Linked DNA regions of Homo sapiens: region 2 is linked to region 1. The links are contacts of gene promoters, found by promoter capture Hi-C in blood cells and fetal thymus (Javierre and others, 2016). All regions are on one chromosome and are shown on one strand. Each heading gives the region's core, a stretch centred on a gene start or on the middle of the fragment in contact. The rest is flanking DNA. Distances are from core to core; before and after follow the strand shown.

The links. The method cuts DNA at HindIII sites, captures the fragments that hold promoters and counts their contacts. A CHiCAGO score of 5 or more calls a contact.
Region 2: a contact is called between a fragment that was not itself captured here and the fragment with the promoter of PFDN1 in region 1, in 11 of 17 cell types (monocytes, megakaryocytes, M2 macrophages and 8 more). The highest score is 14.8, in monocytes.

What each region holds. Positions count from the first base shown.
Region 1 is chr5:140,301,385-140,308,144 of GRCh38, forward strand. It overlaps PFDN1 (prefoldin subunit 1), which reads right to left and starts at 1,717. Exons shown (of 4, transcript NM_002622.5): 1 at 1,657-1,717. The coding sequence starts at 1,689. RefSeq lists an enhancer at 1,454-1,733 and a silencer at 1,622-1,826. The HindIII fragment of the contact is 1,473 bases long and covers 645-2,117 here.
Region 2 is chr5:140,344,114-140,350,969 of GRCh38, forward strand. It overlaps HBEGF (heparin binding EGF like growth factor), which reads right to left and starts at 2,490. Exons shown (of 6, transcript NM_001945.3): 1 at 2,170-2,490; 2 at 1,798-1,971. The coding sequence starts at 2,215. RefSeq lists silencers at 2,405-2,684, 2,725-2,774. The HindIII fragment of the contact is 1,143 bases long and covers 4,447-5,589 here.

The DNA.
Region 1 (6,760 bases), core at 467-2,966:
AAACAGTTCTTGGATACTTTTGTTGAAGTGCCTGGAATGACTTTCACATGCTGTTAAATTTGTGCCTTAATAACATCTGTGACTGCAATGCACAGCAAAGGCTACTACATAATTTTTATTGTGACCTTGTTTTCACCTACTAGTAAGGTTTTGAAAGATTTACTTTGGGGAAGGGGAGGGGCCTGAAATTTCCTATTTGTCTCCACCCAAAAAAAGGACCCTGTAAAAACATTAGAAGATAAAACCTTTAAACAAGTTTTTTAATTAATTGGTTATCAAAATTATTCATTTTAAGTTTGTAATCATTTTCTTAGTTTGCATTCACCGCCCGCAAGTTTCAAATGTAGCAATAAATTCAAAAGTACCGGGAGGCAAATCCATTCACTAAACCCTGATTTAAATCGGTACTTTTAACAGAAGAAAAGGTAAATTTTTAGAATGCACAATTTTGTTTTGAAATGTAAAATTCCAGGTATCATCTGACTGCTCTATACAGCTTGCTAAGGAAGCTAGTATACCATTAAAGATGAGCTAGTATACTGTTAAAGATTAGAGACTCCACCTAAGAGCTAAATTTACAAGATTCAAGACAAGAAGAACAAAAGCAAGACACAAACACATAATATCCTCACAACACTAACAAAAGCTTCATTTGTTAGAAGCAACAGCTATTTCGGCTGTCCTATTTCTTTTACACAAGTTGACCACAGGCAGTCTTAACTAAGATGTTGCTCATCTGAAGAACTCAAAATAGTGGTCAAAAAAGTGTGAGATAAGGCAGAGAATACTGGATTCTAGTCCCAACTTCTGACAGACTTTTCTGGCACTGGTTCCTTTTCCAGAAAAGTAGATTTAAAATAGATAAATTCTAGGGTCCTTTCCAATCCACCCCACCGCACAAAGCATACTGGTTTGGGGTCATTAGTGGTGTTAGAATGCTGATCATTCTTAGATAGCAAAAATCTGAATAACAACACATTTATAAGCAACTGAGGAAAACAGGAAACCCAATTCCTTCCGATACCGGTTTTATTTGGAAAACTTTACTGGTTTTGTTTTGTTTTTGACAATTCCTTCAAAAGAAGGAGGTTTTGTTTTGTTTTGTTTGACGAGTCCTTCAAAAGAAGTGGAGGGGGGGCAAAATCCTGAAATGAACATTGCTGCTACAATGCTTGGTTTTCCGAACTGTAGATATTGCAACTTTCAAGGTACAGAACCGAATAAATGGCCTAAAAACAAAGGTTGGACTTGGAGTTTTTCAAAGCAAATGAGGCAGAATTACGGATGCCACAGCTCAGGCAAGGGGTCCGAAGGGACCCCCATTTGAAATGCTCTCTTTAGTTCTTACTATGAAAGTGAGTCCCTGAAGCCTCCAAACGCAACGAAATGTCTCTGGAGCTCAGAAAGACTGGACAAGCCCGAGACAGGCCCGCAGACTTACCCGACCCAGACCAACCGGCTCCTACCCAGCAAGAGCCGCTCGCCCCCCACCCCGTTTATGGAGACCCAGTGAGGCCTTAGGACTCTGGGAAACCATTCCCTAGTCCACTGGACCCTCCTTCCTTCTGCAAGGCTCGTGCCTCACTTGATATTCTTGTCTATAGTCCCCTCAGCCTCCAAAAAGAAGACCTCCGCCTGCCAAAGACCCTCTTTTACCTTCTTCAGCTCTAGATCCACGGGGGCGGCCATCTTGGTGCACTGTAAGCGCCTGCGCAGTGGGAGTTGGACTGAAATAGGGTGGGGAAGGGCGCGTCTTACTTTGTGCGCCGGTCTTTCTTCTGCGCCTGCGCATGAGTTGGACTAACCGGGCTTCTTATCTTTCTCTGAGAATTGACTCCTGAAATATTTGGGTTTCGGATTCCGTGTCTTCACTACCTGACCGGTCAGGTCTGGCTTGCTCCTCCGTATCTTCCAGACATAGCCCAACGCGCAGATTTCCCATGTGGCTTTAAGCAGTTTGCCAGCTAGCTTAATATGTGCTGCTAAATTGAGATGTATGTAGATGAGGTCAAACCCTCATCAGTCGATCAGTCCTTCAGCTAGTCGCTGTGCTCTCAGGAATGAGTAAGAGTAAGTCCAGAACCTCAGGCATGACAGTTTGGGAAAGACTATTGGAAAGCTTGTCTGGAGTGTTCTTTCCAAAACGAACTTATTACTTCCAAAAGCTTCCCAAAGACATTCTAGGCACAGTGGTTCTCAAGAGAGGCTGAATACGTTTGTTTAAAAACAAAAAAATGCAGGTTCTCTGGGTCTCATCTCAAACGTACTCAGAATCTTTGAGAATGGGGTCTGGAAATTTGCACTTTTGCAGACTACCCCAGTGACCTAATGGTGCAACTCCTCCGCGGATCACTTTTTTGAGAATCTCTGCCATAAAAGGACCTGGCATTTGAACCAGAATAGATAATAATTGACTTTTGGAAATGGAAAAAAAAGTTAACCTACTCTAAAAACTGTTATGCTAAGAGAAAGTGCTACATAAATAATTAGGAAATTTATTTTATTTTTTAAAAAAAGAAAGAAAGAGAGAAAGAAAACAAACTGTTAGGGAGATGAAAGGGCAGGGAATTTGGAACCAGCCTAATCTAGATTCAAGGCTTGGTCTGCCTTTAGCCTATGTCTGGTTCCATTTACTAATTGTGTGACTTTAAGCAAGTCACTTGGATATTTTGTGGGGTTTTTTTTTTTTTTTGTACGTTTGTTTGTTTCTTGAGACAGGATCTTGCTCTGTCACCCAGGCTCGAGTGCAATGGTGCAATCACGACTCACTCCAGCCTCTACCTCCCGCGCTCAAGCGATCCTCCCACCTCAGCCTCGTGAGTAGCGCTGGGACTACAGGCGCGCGCCACCCACACTCAGCTAATTTTTATATTTTTGTACAGACGGGTTTTCACCTTGTTGCCCAAGCTGGTCTCAAACTCCTGAGCTCAAACAATCCGCTCGCCTTGGTCGCCCAAAGTGCTGTAGTGCTTTGATATTAAAGGCTTGAGCCACCGCACCCGGCCACATTTTTTTTTTTTTTTTTTTTTTGAGCCAGGGTCTCGCTCTGTCACCCAGGCTGGAATGCAGTGGCACGATCTCGGCTCACTGCAACCTCTGCCTCCCAGGATCAAGTGATTCTCCTGCCTCAGCCTCCCGAGTAGCTGGGATTACAGGCGCCTGCCACCACGCCCGGCTAATTTTTGTAGTTTTGGTAGAGACGGGTTTCACCGTGTTGCCCAGGCTGGTCTCCAACTCCCAGCCTCAAGTGATCCGCCTGCCTCGGCCTCCCAAAGGGCTGGGATTACAGGCAAGCCACCACGTCCAGCATCTGCCACCTATTTTTAATGAGCTTCAGTCTTCTCATGTTTGAGAGTGACCATATTGACCTAACAGGGTTATTGTGAGAAATAAATGAGATCAGGATAAAAAGCTCCAAACATAGCTCCATGCACACAAGTAGATACTCAATAAATCACTGGTGTTAATCGCCGTCCTGTTTGTCTTTCAAAGTCCAGCAAATGGGCACTACATCCCCCATCACACAGAGCAAAGATAATCTCTCCTCTGAACTCCCCTCACAACATCTATTTCTCTCTCAAGGCATATAACACTGTCTACCTTTTTTTAGAAAACATTTTTCTTAGACTGTAAGCTCCTTGAAATCAAGAACTATGGAATAATGGTTCTTCCACCTCTTGTACCTAGAACACCTGTCACAGTGCATCACGGGAAAAAAATACAAAATGGATACTGGATGTGAATAAATTATTCTGGAAAAAAAAAAGAAGACTCATTCCTCCCCAATTTGAGAAAGAGTAAAAAGGATCTGATATTTTGATTCTCTGGGACCTTCTTAGATTCTCATTACAGATGATCAATAAATACTGACTGATTAGCCAGGCATGGTGGCATGCCCCTGTAGTCCCAGCTACTCAGGAGGCTGAGGCAGGAGAATTGTGTGAGGCCTGGAGGCCAAGGCTGCAGTGAGTGGGGATCAATTGTGTCATTGCACTCCAGCCTGAAAGACAGAGTGAGACCTTGTCTCAAAAAATAAAATAAAATAAAATAAAATAAAATAGTGATTGAATATTGAAATTCAAAAAAAGTCTGAAATACTGTCCTGTACATTACCTCATGAGACTTTTGAAAGAGTCCTCATAGAGATGTATGGACTGTAAAAGTTAAGAGCCTGGGCTAAGCTGTCAGACAACCTGGGTACAAATACTGATTATACTACTTAAGGGTAATATGATCTTAGGCAAGAGTCTTCTCTGCATTGTTTGTTTGGTCATTGTTTCTCTTTGTGTATTTGTATACTACTTCTTCCTCATGAGTTTAATTTCCTTTTTTTTTTTTTTTCTTTTTTGAGACATGGTCTCATTCTGTCACCCAGGCTAGAGTGCAGTGGTTCAATCTCAGCTCACTTCAGCCTCCACCTCCCGGGTTCCAGCAATTCTCCTGCCTCAGCCTCCCTAGTAGCTTGGATTACAGGTGCATGTCACCACCTGGCTACTTTTCGTATTTCTTGTAAAGATGGGGTTTCACCATGTTGGCCAGGCTGGTCTTGAACTCCTGACCCCAGGTGATCCACCTGCCTCAGCCTCTCAAAGTGCTGGGATTACAGGCATGAGCCACTGCACCCAGCCTAATTTCCTTCATGATAAAGGAAATCCTTCAGTAGGTTCTTTTAGTAAGAATGTCTGATAAGTAAATTCTCTTCATCTTTGTTTTACAGGTTGAATTGTGCCCCCCACAAAAGATATGTTGAAGTCCTAACTCCCAGTACCTCAGAATGTGACCCTATTTGAAAGTAGGGTTTTGGGACAGGCGTGGTGGCTCATACCTATAATCCTAGCAGTTTGGGAGACTGAGGCGGGAGGATTCTTTGAGCCCATGAGTTTGAGACCAGCCTGGACAATAGGGCGAGACCTCATCTCTACAAAAAATAAAAAAAATTAACCGAGTGTGGTGGCAGTTATCTATATTCCCAGTTACTTGGGAGGCTGCAATAGGTGCATTGCTTGAGCCCAGGAAATTGAGGCTCCAGTAAGCTATGATCTACCACTGCACTCCCACCTGGGTGACAGAGCAAAGCCATGTCTCAAAAAATAAAAAGAAAGGGAGAAAGGAAGGAAGGAAGGAAGGAAGGAAATGGAGTTTTTACAGAGGTAATCAAGTTAAATGAGGTTATTAGAGTGGGCCCTAATGCAATATGACTGATGTCTTTATAAAAAGGGGAACTTTGGACACATACAGACACACACACAAGGAGGACTATGTGAACAGACATAAGGAGAAAGCCACATCAAACCTGGGGCTATCAGGCCAGGCGTGGTGGCTCACGCCTGTAATCCCAGCACTTTGGGAGGCCAAGGCAGGCAGATCACCTGAGGTCGGGAGTTCAAGACCAGCCTGACCAACATGGAGAAGCCCCGTCTCTACCAAAAATACAAAATTAGCGGGGCGTAGTGGTGCATGCCTGTAATCCCAGCTACCCAGGAGGCTGAGGCAGGAGAATTGCTTGAACCTGGGCGGTGGAGGTTGCAGTGAGCCGAGATTGTGCCATTGCACTCCAGCCTGGGCAACAAGAGCAAAACTCTGTCTCAAAAAAACCATCTGGGGCTATCAGAAACTGGAAAAGGCAAGAAGGATTCTTCTCTTTCGGGTTTCAGATAAAACATGGCTTTGCCAACACCTTGATTTTGGACTTCTAGCCCCCAGAACTGAGACAATAAATTTGTGTTGTTTTAAGCCACCCAGTTTGTGGTACTTTGTTGTGGCAGCCCTAGAAAATGCTCTGTGTATATCTAAAAATGTACATCAGGCCAGGTGTGGTGGCTCATGCCTGGAATCCCAGCACTTTAGGAGGCCAAGGCAGAAGCATTGCTTGAGGCCAGGAGTTGAACAAGACCAGCCTGGACAACATAGTAAGACCCCATTGCTACAAAAATTTTTAAAAATTATCCAGGTGTGGCACACCTCTGTAGTCCCAGCTACTTGAGAGGCTGAGGCAGAGAATAGCTTGAGCCCAGGAGTTCAAGGTTGCAGTGAGCTATGATCTGCCACTGCACTCTAGCCAGGGTGACAGAGCAACACCCTGTCTCAAAAAAAATGTTTTTTGTTTTTTTTTTTTTTGAGACGGAGTCTCACTCTTTCACCCAGGCTGGACTGCAGTGGTGCTATCTCGGCTCACTGCAAGCTCCACCTCCCGGGTTCATGCCATTCTCCTGCCTCAGCCTCCCAAGTAGCTGGGACTACAGGCGCCCGCCACCGTGCCCAGCTAATTTTTTGTATTTTTAGTAGAGACGGGGTTTCACCGTGTTAGCCAAGATGGTCTCAATCTCCTGACCTCGTGATCCGCCTGCCTCGGCCTCCCAAAGTGCTGGGATTACAGGCGTGAGCCACCACGCCTGGCCAAAAAATATGTATATTTTTTTAAATAAATAAATGCATATCTAAAAGGTTCACCCTTATTTTTGAATGACAGCTTAGCTATATATAGAACTATAGGTTGACAATTATTATTGAAGGCATTTTTCCATAGTTTTCTGATTTTATATACTGATAAAAAGTCCTCTGTCAGGCTGCTTTTCATTTCTTTGTTAGAAATCTGTCTTTTCTCTGGTATATTTTAAGATTCACTTTGTCTTTGGGTTTTGCCCTTCTACTTTGATGTGTGTGTTTGTGTTTGTGTGTGTGTTTGTAGATTAAAAATATATACCTAAAAATTCACCTAAACCTTTATCTTAAAATGTATATTCTAAAAATCTTTCTTACT
Region 2 (6,856 bases), core at 3,768-6,267, 46 kb after region 1:
GGTGACAGAGTGAGACTATGTTTAAAAAAAAAAAAAAGAAAAAAAGAAAAAACTCATGGCAGGCAGAGTGACTTACTCAAGGTCATGCAGGATTGGGATTAGAACTGTGTTCTCTGGACTTCACTCCAATGTCCTTCCTCACCACACCAAGCTGCCTCACACACTCCCATCTCCTCCCTCTCACAAGTCTAGAGCACCTGAGATGCTGATCCAGGCATGAATGGGCTCTGAAGTCCATAGACCTGTGCTCCAATTTCAGCTATTTACTGTGGGCAGTCACTTAACTCCTCTGAACCTCAGGTTCTCAGTAAAATGTGGATAGCCAAAGTAACTATCTCAAAAGGTTGCTATAAGTGTTACATTAGCCAGGATAACATATCAAGTGCCTAGAACACAGTAGGAATTTAATAAATGGTAGCAGTCATTTATTTTAGGTGGTAGGATCCCCAGACCTGAAAAATAGTCCTTGCCCAGCAAAGCCAAAAGAAGGGAAGAGAAGTAGGTGCCAGCAGCCCCCACAGTCTTTCATTTCCTCTCATCCAGTCCCAGGCCCCCTCAGAGCTCAGAAGGTGATACAGGTGGTCAGAGGAACCCAGTGACCAGAGCTTCGGGGAGAGCAAGGCAGGGGGGCCAAGCCAATCAGAAAGGGGAGGGAGAAGGTGCAGGGTGACAGCCAGGCTCCTGCCATGGACAGGGAGCAGTGAGTCAGGTCTGCAGAGGTAAGAGGAGCAGCCGTGTGGGTGGGGGGTGGGGGTGGGGTGAGTCACAGCCCAGCCCTGCCCAGCCTAGGAGGAGAGGGCCAGGAGAATCCAGGCTGTTCAGGTCATGGGCAACCCCAGAGGGCCACTGGGAGAGGATGAAGTATGGGAGCCCAGGCTCAGTTTTGGAGTATGTGCTTGATTTATACAAAGTAGAGAGAGTATCCAAGGAAAGCTCCTGGGAATGAGGGAGAAGGGCAGCTGAGGAGCAGGTGGAACTAGAACAGGTGGGCATCTGTCCAACCAAATATAGTCATTCCAGGGTACAGTGCTGAGTCCTTGCTCTACTCTGGATAATCTCCTCAGGTTTGGAGGCAGGAGAGCTGGCAGGCTCTGGACTCTGCCCTGTACCTGTACTTGGCCACAGCCAAAGAGGCTGGTTGGAGGATCCTACACAGCCCTCCCCATTTGGAGTCTCCTCAGGAATGCAAGGTGCTCAGTAAGCTGCAGGTTTCCGGTAGCATTCACAGATATCCAGCATTTTAATACAGCCCCCTAGGGGCTCAGTGCTCACCATTCACAGCCTCATCTAGGGCGGCCAAGAGCTCCTCATTCCCCTCTGTTTCCCCAATCTGGAGACAGGTGGATGGAGGAGGCCAACACTGCACACTTTCTAGAGATGTGCCTGGGCATCTCCGCATGTGTTACCTCTATTTTATATATAATAGTCATTTGATATGGGAATTAGAACTGGCGCCCATTTTTACATAGTAGCTCTAGGGAAAGCATCTCAACCATTCCTTGTTCCTATCACCCAGCTTACCTAAGAAGAACGTAACAACCCCAGACAACACGTCTGATTCAATTTGCCCCGGAGTACCCAGAAGGGCAGCAACCCAGCAGGTGAGGCAATGACAAGAGAGAGAGAGTGGGACCTATATTCCAGGATCCCCCAGTGCCCATCAGGCCGATCAGCTTTTCCCCGAGGTTCTCCATGAATACCCTCAACCCACAGTATTGCCCAAACAGCAAGAATCTTGGATCTGCTTATTCTTCAACAGCCCACCAAGGTCCAAGGATGGGGGGCCTCCACACCCACCTCTCAAAAGGTCCAGATCTGCCTCTTGCAAGTCACGGACTTTCCGGTCCCGGCCGCCTCCTAGGGGTAGCAGCTGGTCCGTGGATACAGTGGGAGGGTCCGGGTTGCTGGTTCCAGCAGCTAGCCCTCTCCGAAGCCGCTCCAGGCTCTCGCCAGTCACCAGTGCCGAGAGAACTGCGGGCGAGAGGCCAGGCCGCATCAGACACCCGCCCAGACCCCTGACCAACACGCACCGATGCCGACGCCCGTCCGCCAGAGCGCAAGGGCCCCACCAAGTGGCCCGTGCCGGGTGCGCTGCGGCGACCTTCCCCCATGCCCCCAGCACAACGCCCCCATCCCCCCGATCTCCGGGGGCGTCGGCAGCCCTCTTACCTGCAGCCAGAAAGAGCTTCAGCACCACCGACGGCAGCAGCTTCATGGTCCCGCACCGAGAGGAGGCGGCGAGGCACCAGTCACTTTCGAAGCGGCGGCCACTGGGCGCTGGCACCAGAGCTGGGCGGCGGAGCTCAGGAGATTCCGCCGGGCACCGTCTGCCGCCCGCCTCTGCGTGCAAGCCTGGCCGGGACCCAGGCGCAGCTCGCTCTTCTTGAGTGTCTTGTCTTGCTCACTCAGCCCGCCCGCGCGGCCGCCCGACCCCGCGCGCCTAGGTCAGGCCAGCCAGCAGCGTGGCCCGCGTAGCTCCTTCGGCCGAATGAGCGCTGCCCGGCTCGCGGCCGGGAATAAGGCTCCAGGAGGCGCGGAAGCTCCGCCCCGCCCGGCGCCGCCCCCTCCCTCCTCCCGTGCTGGGAAGCTCGCCCGGCTCGCGGCGCCGGCAGCGCAGCCCCCGACCCCGCGGGCGCGGCGGAGGACTGGGCGGGAGGAGAGGGCGGCGTTCACAATTTTTGGGACCAGGCCGAGGCAGCCGCGGCCTGATTGTGGGTAGGGCTACTGACCGGCAGGTGGCGGAGAGCGGTTCCTACCTTTCCCCAAACGCCTGTCACTCTGCAGCCTTGTGACTGACTGCTGAGCTGAGTTCTGTTCCGGGCCTGGCCTCTTGCTTCATCTAAGCCCCATACCAGGGGTCTCCATCCCTGTCACCCTCTAAGTTTCAGAAGCCCACCTTTTGGCCTACCAACACGGCAAGTATCAAATAATAATTAATTCATCTATCATTTAAAAATTAGACACGTGAATGCCAGCCGTTCTCATAAACCCGAGATAACCAGAGTTGAAGTTGCAGGCACTTAGTATCAATCCAGCAAAAGCAAAGGAAGTTAGTACTCTCTTAGTCTCTGGAGTGGCTTCCTCCCATCTTCCCTCAGGGGACATTAGGATTTTTGAACTATGGGTTGTAATTCCCAGGCTTCTGAGATTGGAGAGACACAGGTTGTGAAACAAGCCTTATTCTTTTCCTTGCCTTTGACTGCCACCTTTTTCCTCAACATAAAAAATGAGCCACCCTCCCATAGGACCCAGCTGGCTAACCTAGATTGCTGTTTCACAGACACTAGGTGTTTCTCTTCCAACCCATGTGCTTTTGCAGGGGTCTTCTGGAGTCACTGTCCTGACCCAAAGAAATGAGTGTCTCAGTAGGTATTTCAGTTTCCAGGGACGTGCTGGGGAGAGAGTTGTTTGACACAGGGCTGGGTTGGCTTTCAGAGCCCTGAAATTGTGCCAGATAGAGCACTTGCCGGATTCTGCCTGTGTGTAGGGATAAAAACAGGCCTGCTATTTATACACAGTCTATCCCACTGTCCCTCCCTATCCCCACCTTTGCAGGGGTCAGTCTGGCCCTGCCCTCTTAACTTGCTCCAGTAACCTAGGCCTAGGTTTCCATAGTGCACTGGAATCACTACAGACCTGAGTTTGAATCCTGCCTTTGCTACTTACTGTGTGACCTTGGACAAGAAACTTAATTTCACTGAGCCTCAGTTTTGACGTCTCTCAAATGGAAAAAATAATAACAATAATAATAATGACTACTTTGTAGGGAGCTTTTTGAGAAATGAATGCGGGAACACATAAAAGTAGTTAGTATAGTGCCAGGCACACTATAAGCTCTCAATAAATGTGACCCATTATTATTGTTGCTGTTAATAATAATCACTAAGCACTTGACCACTCTATTTCCTTAGAGGCCTCTTTTCTCTCACTTCTCTAGATCGCTTGCCTTCCCCTAGGCCATATCTGAGGCTTTATGATATAGTTGGGCTGGTTTCAGACAGAAGCTCACCTGTCACCTATTTGGCTAAGAGCCACTGTTAGATTATCCTTTTGGGTGATGAGTATCGGGCCTAGGACCTCAGTGCATGGTCACCGCCCAAGCCATGACTTTGCCCTCCCTCAGCAGCTGCCTGGCCACCTGCTTCCCCAAAACAAAGCCACCTTGGGGTCAAGGCTCTCCCCAGGGGAGGGTGGAGAGAAACACTTCCTGACACATGGTCAAATCACCCCCTTTCCCCCACCCTCGCCAGAGTCACACCCTGCTCTCTTGCCCCAGCCTGCCTTTCTCCCTTCACATGCTCTGTCCTTCCGCCTTCTCACCCCCACATCAGCCTCAGTCCCATTCATGGGGCAACTCCAAACTTTCATCACACCTGGAGCCTCACCCCAGCTAGGTTTGTGTGTCAGCCAGGTTTTACAGGAAGGGCCTGAAAAAAGAAGATAAAAAGCTTGAATTGGATTTGGGACAGTCACTTCCCCTCTCAGAATCTTGGATGTCTCTGAGCAAAGAAAAGGAATCACAATTCATGCTGAGGCAATCTCATTAACTCAATTATATCATAAACATTAACTGAACATTTTTGGGGGGCACTGGGGACATAGAAATAAATAAGACAGCCCAGGACCTGCTTTCACAGAGCTTATATTCTATAGTAGACAGGCAGCACATTAAGGAAATAAACAAGGAAAAACATATCCTATAGTGATAACTGCTAAGATGAAAGTTAAAATACAATGATGTGCTGTAGGATAATATGTTCCAGTGCCCAGGATGACACTTTAAACTGATTAGCAAAGCCTTCTCTGAGCAGGTGACATGTAAGCTGAGGCCTGAATGAGAAGAAGAAATCAGATTTGGGATCATCTATGACAAAAGCATTCCAAGATGTGCAAATAGTGCAAAGACTCTGAAATGGAAAAAAGTTGGGAGCATTCAAGGAAAAGCAAGAGGGCCAAAAAAGGAGAGATATGGGATGATATTGGAACAAAGGCTAGCAACAGATAAAAGAGGACGTTATAAGCCAAGGTAGACACTGGATTTTATGCCCCATTATTGTCAGAATCATATGAGATGTCAATGAGACAGCACTGTCATGCAGGATTCCTCCATATTGTCCCCTCCTCCTGCTCAGGTCTCCCCCACCTGCTCTCTGGATGTCAGGTTGTCAAATGCCAGGAACATAGTCCTAAGGAAGTAGAGTTCAGACAGACAAGCCTGCTTTTATTGACTGTCTATTGACCATGAGCAAACTGAGGCTTGGAGACTGATTAGCCCTGGGCCACCAGTGAGTCAGAAGGGGGCAAGTGCAGAGCAGAAACCCTGGCATCCTGCTTCCCAGCCCATGCGAGTTTCCTGGGCCTCTGGAAAGGCAGGCTCCATGGGACTCTGAGTGCTGCTGACTCACTGCTAGGCCAGAGTTCTTGATTTGGAGAGAGCACTTGCTCCCCAGTGGGGAGGACCTGGAAGAAAGCGGTGCTAGTGGTGACAATTCCCCTGTAATCAACACTGCACATGCATTATCTTGCTTGATCCTCACAACATCCCCCAAACTAGACACTGTTATCATCATCTGCATTTTAAAGGATTGAAGCTTTAAAAGGTAACATCCCAAGGTCACCCAGCTAGTGAGTGTCTCAGCCTCAATTTGAAACCCCCTCGTTCACTTGGGCTTGTGCTCTCCTAAGCTCAACACTCAAATGGATGAGACGACAGCCGCCATCTCTATGCTTCTGTGGAGGGTAACATTATCAGTTTTACTGAGTTTCAGTCCTTCATCTGTTCTGAGGGATAATAAGAAACTCTGGCTCACTAGACTGGAAGGATGCTTAGGTAAGCACAGCAGGGCAGCTAATGAAATGGATACAGTCTTGGGAGTCAGATACTTGGGGGTTCAAATTTTGTTGGTTTTTTTTTCTTTCTAACTTTGAACATGTTATTCAATTTCTCTTACCTACAGTTTGCTCACCTGAAAAGTGGGGACAATAATAGTAGTTATTATTATAGGGCTTTTGTGATGATTCAGTCAGATCATGTGTATAAAGCGGAATATGATGCCTGGCACATAGTAGGTACTTACTCAATGACAGCGGTTATTATGACCAAATTTTTTTCTTGCTTTCTTTCCTTTTTCTTTTTAAGTGGGAACTTGAATAAAATGTTGGTTTATCATGAGCTAGCCATCCTCAGAGATGAAGTGTTCCTTTCTGGGAGATGGCCATGCTTATCAAAGAGATGCTAGATCTGCAAGGCCACCCAGAGTTTTGGAAACCTCAACCCAAAAAAGCAACTCAGGCTCAGAGGTCAGAGGGAAGCTGTGCCCCCTGGGGGAGAGGATTCAGCTGCCTTCTCATTCCCCTCTGACCAGAAGTGAATCCTGCACAGCCCTTGAACTCTGCTGCGTTGGGGAGAGGGGTAAAGAAGGGCACCTCCATTAAGGGTAGGTCTGACCATGAGCCCAGAGTTACCCAAACTTGGAATGTCAGGATGAGGGGTCATTGCTTCTTGGCCCAGGCTGGCTTCTCTCACCCCATCTGAGACAGTTAATCAAACAGTTTGGGCATACAGCTGGATTAGATTAGAATTCAGGCCTGCCCTTTGGAGCCCCCGTGTACCTTCTTATGCTGGCTGGGCACCTGGAAGTAGCGTGCTTCATGCATATTCAGGGATGAACAGGCTCTGCTGTCTGATTGTTTGGGGCTAGGATCTATTTGAATAGGATGAAGGATAGGAATGGATGAGATAGGGGGAGGCTTTTGGAGGTGAGGGGGTTTCAGGAATCCCTGTCATCTCCAGAAGATGTTGAGGAAGGAATATTTATAATGTGCTGGATCCCAAACCATCCTTCTCTATTTCTGG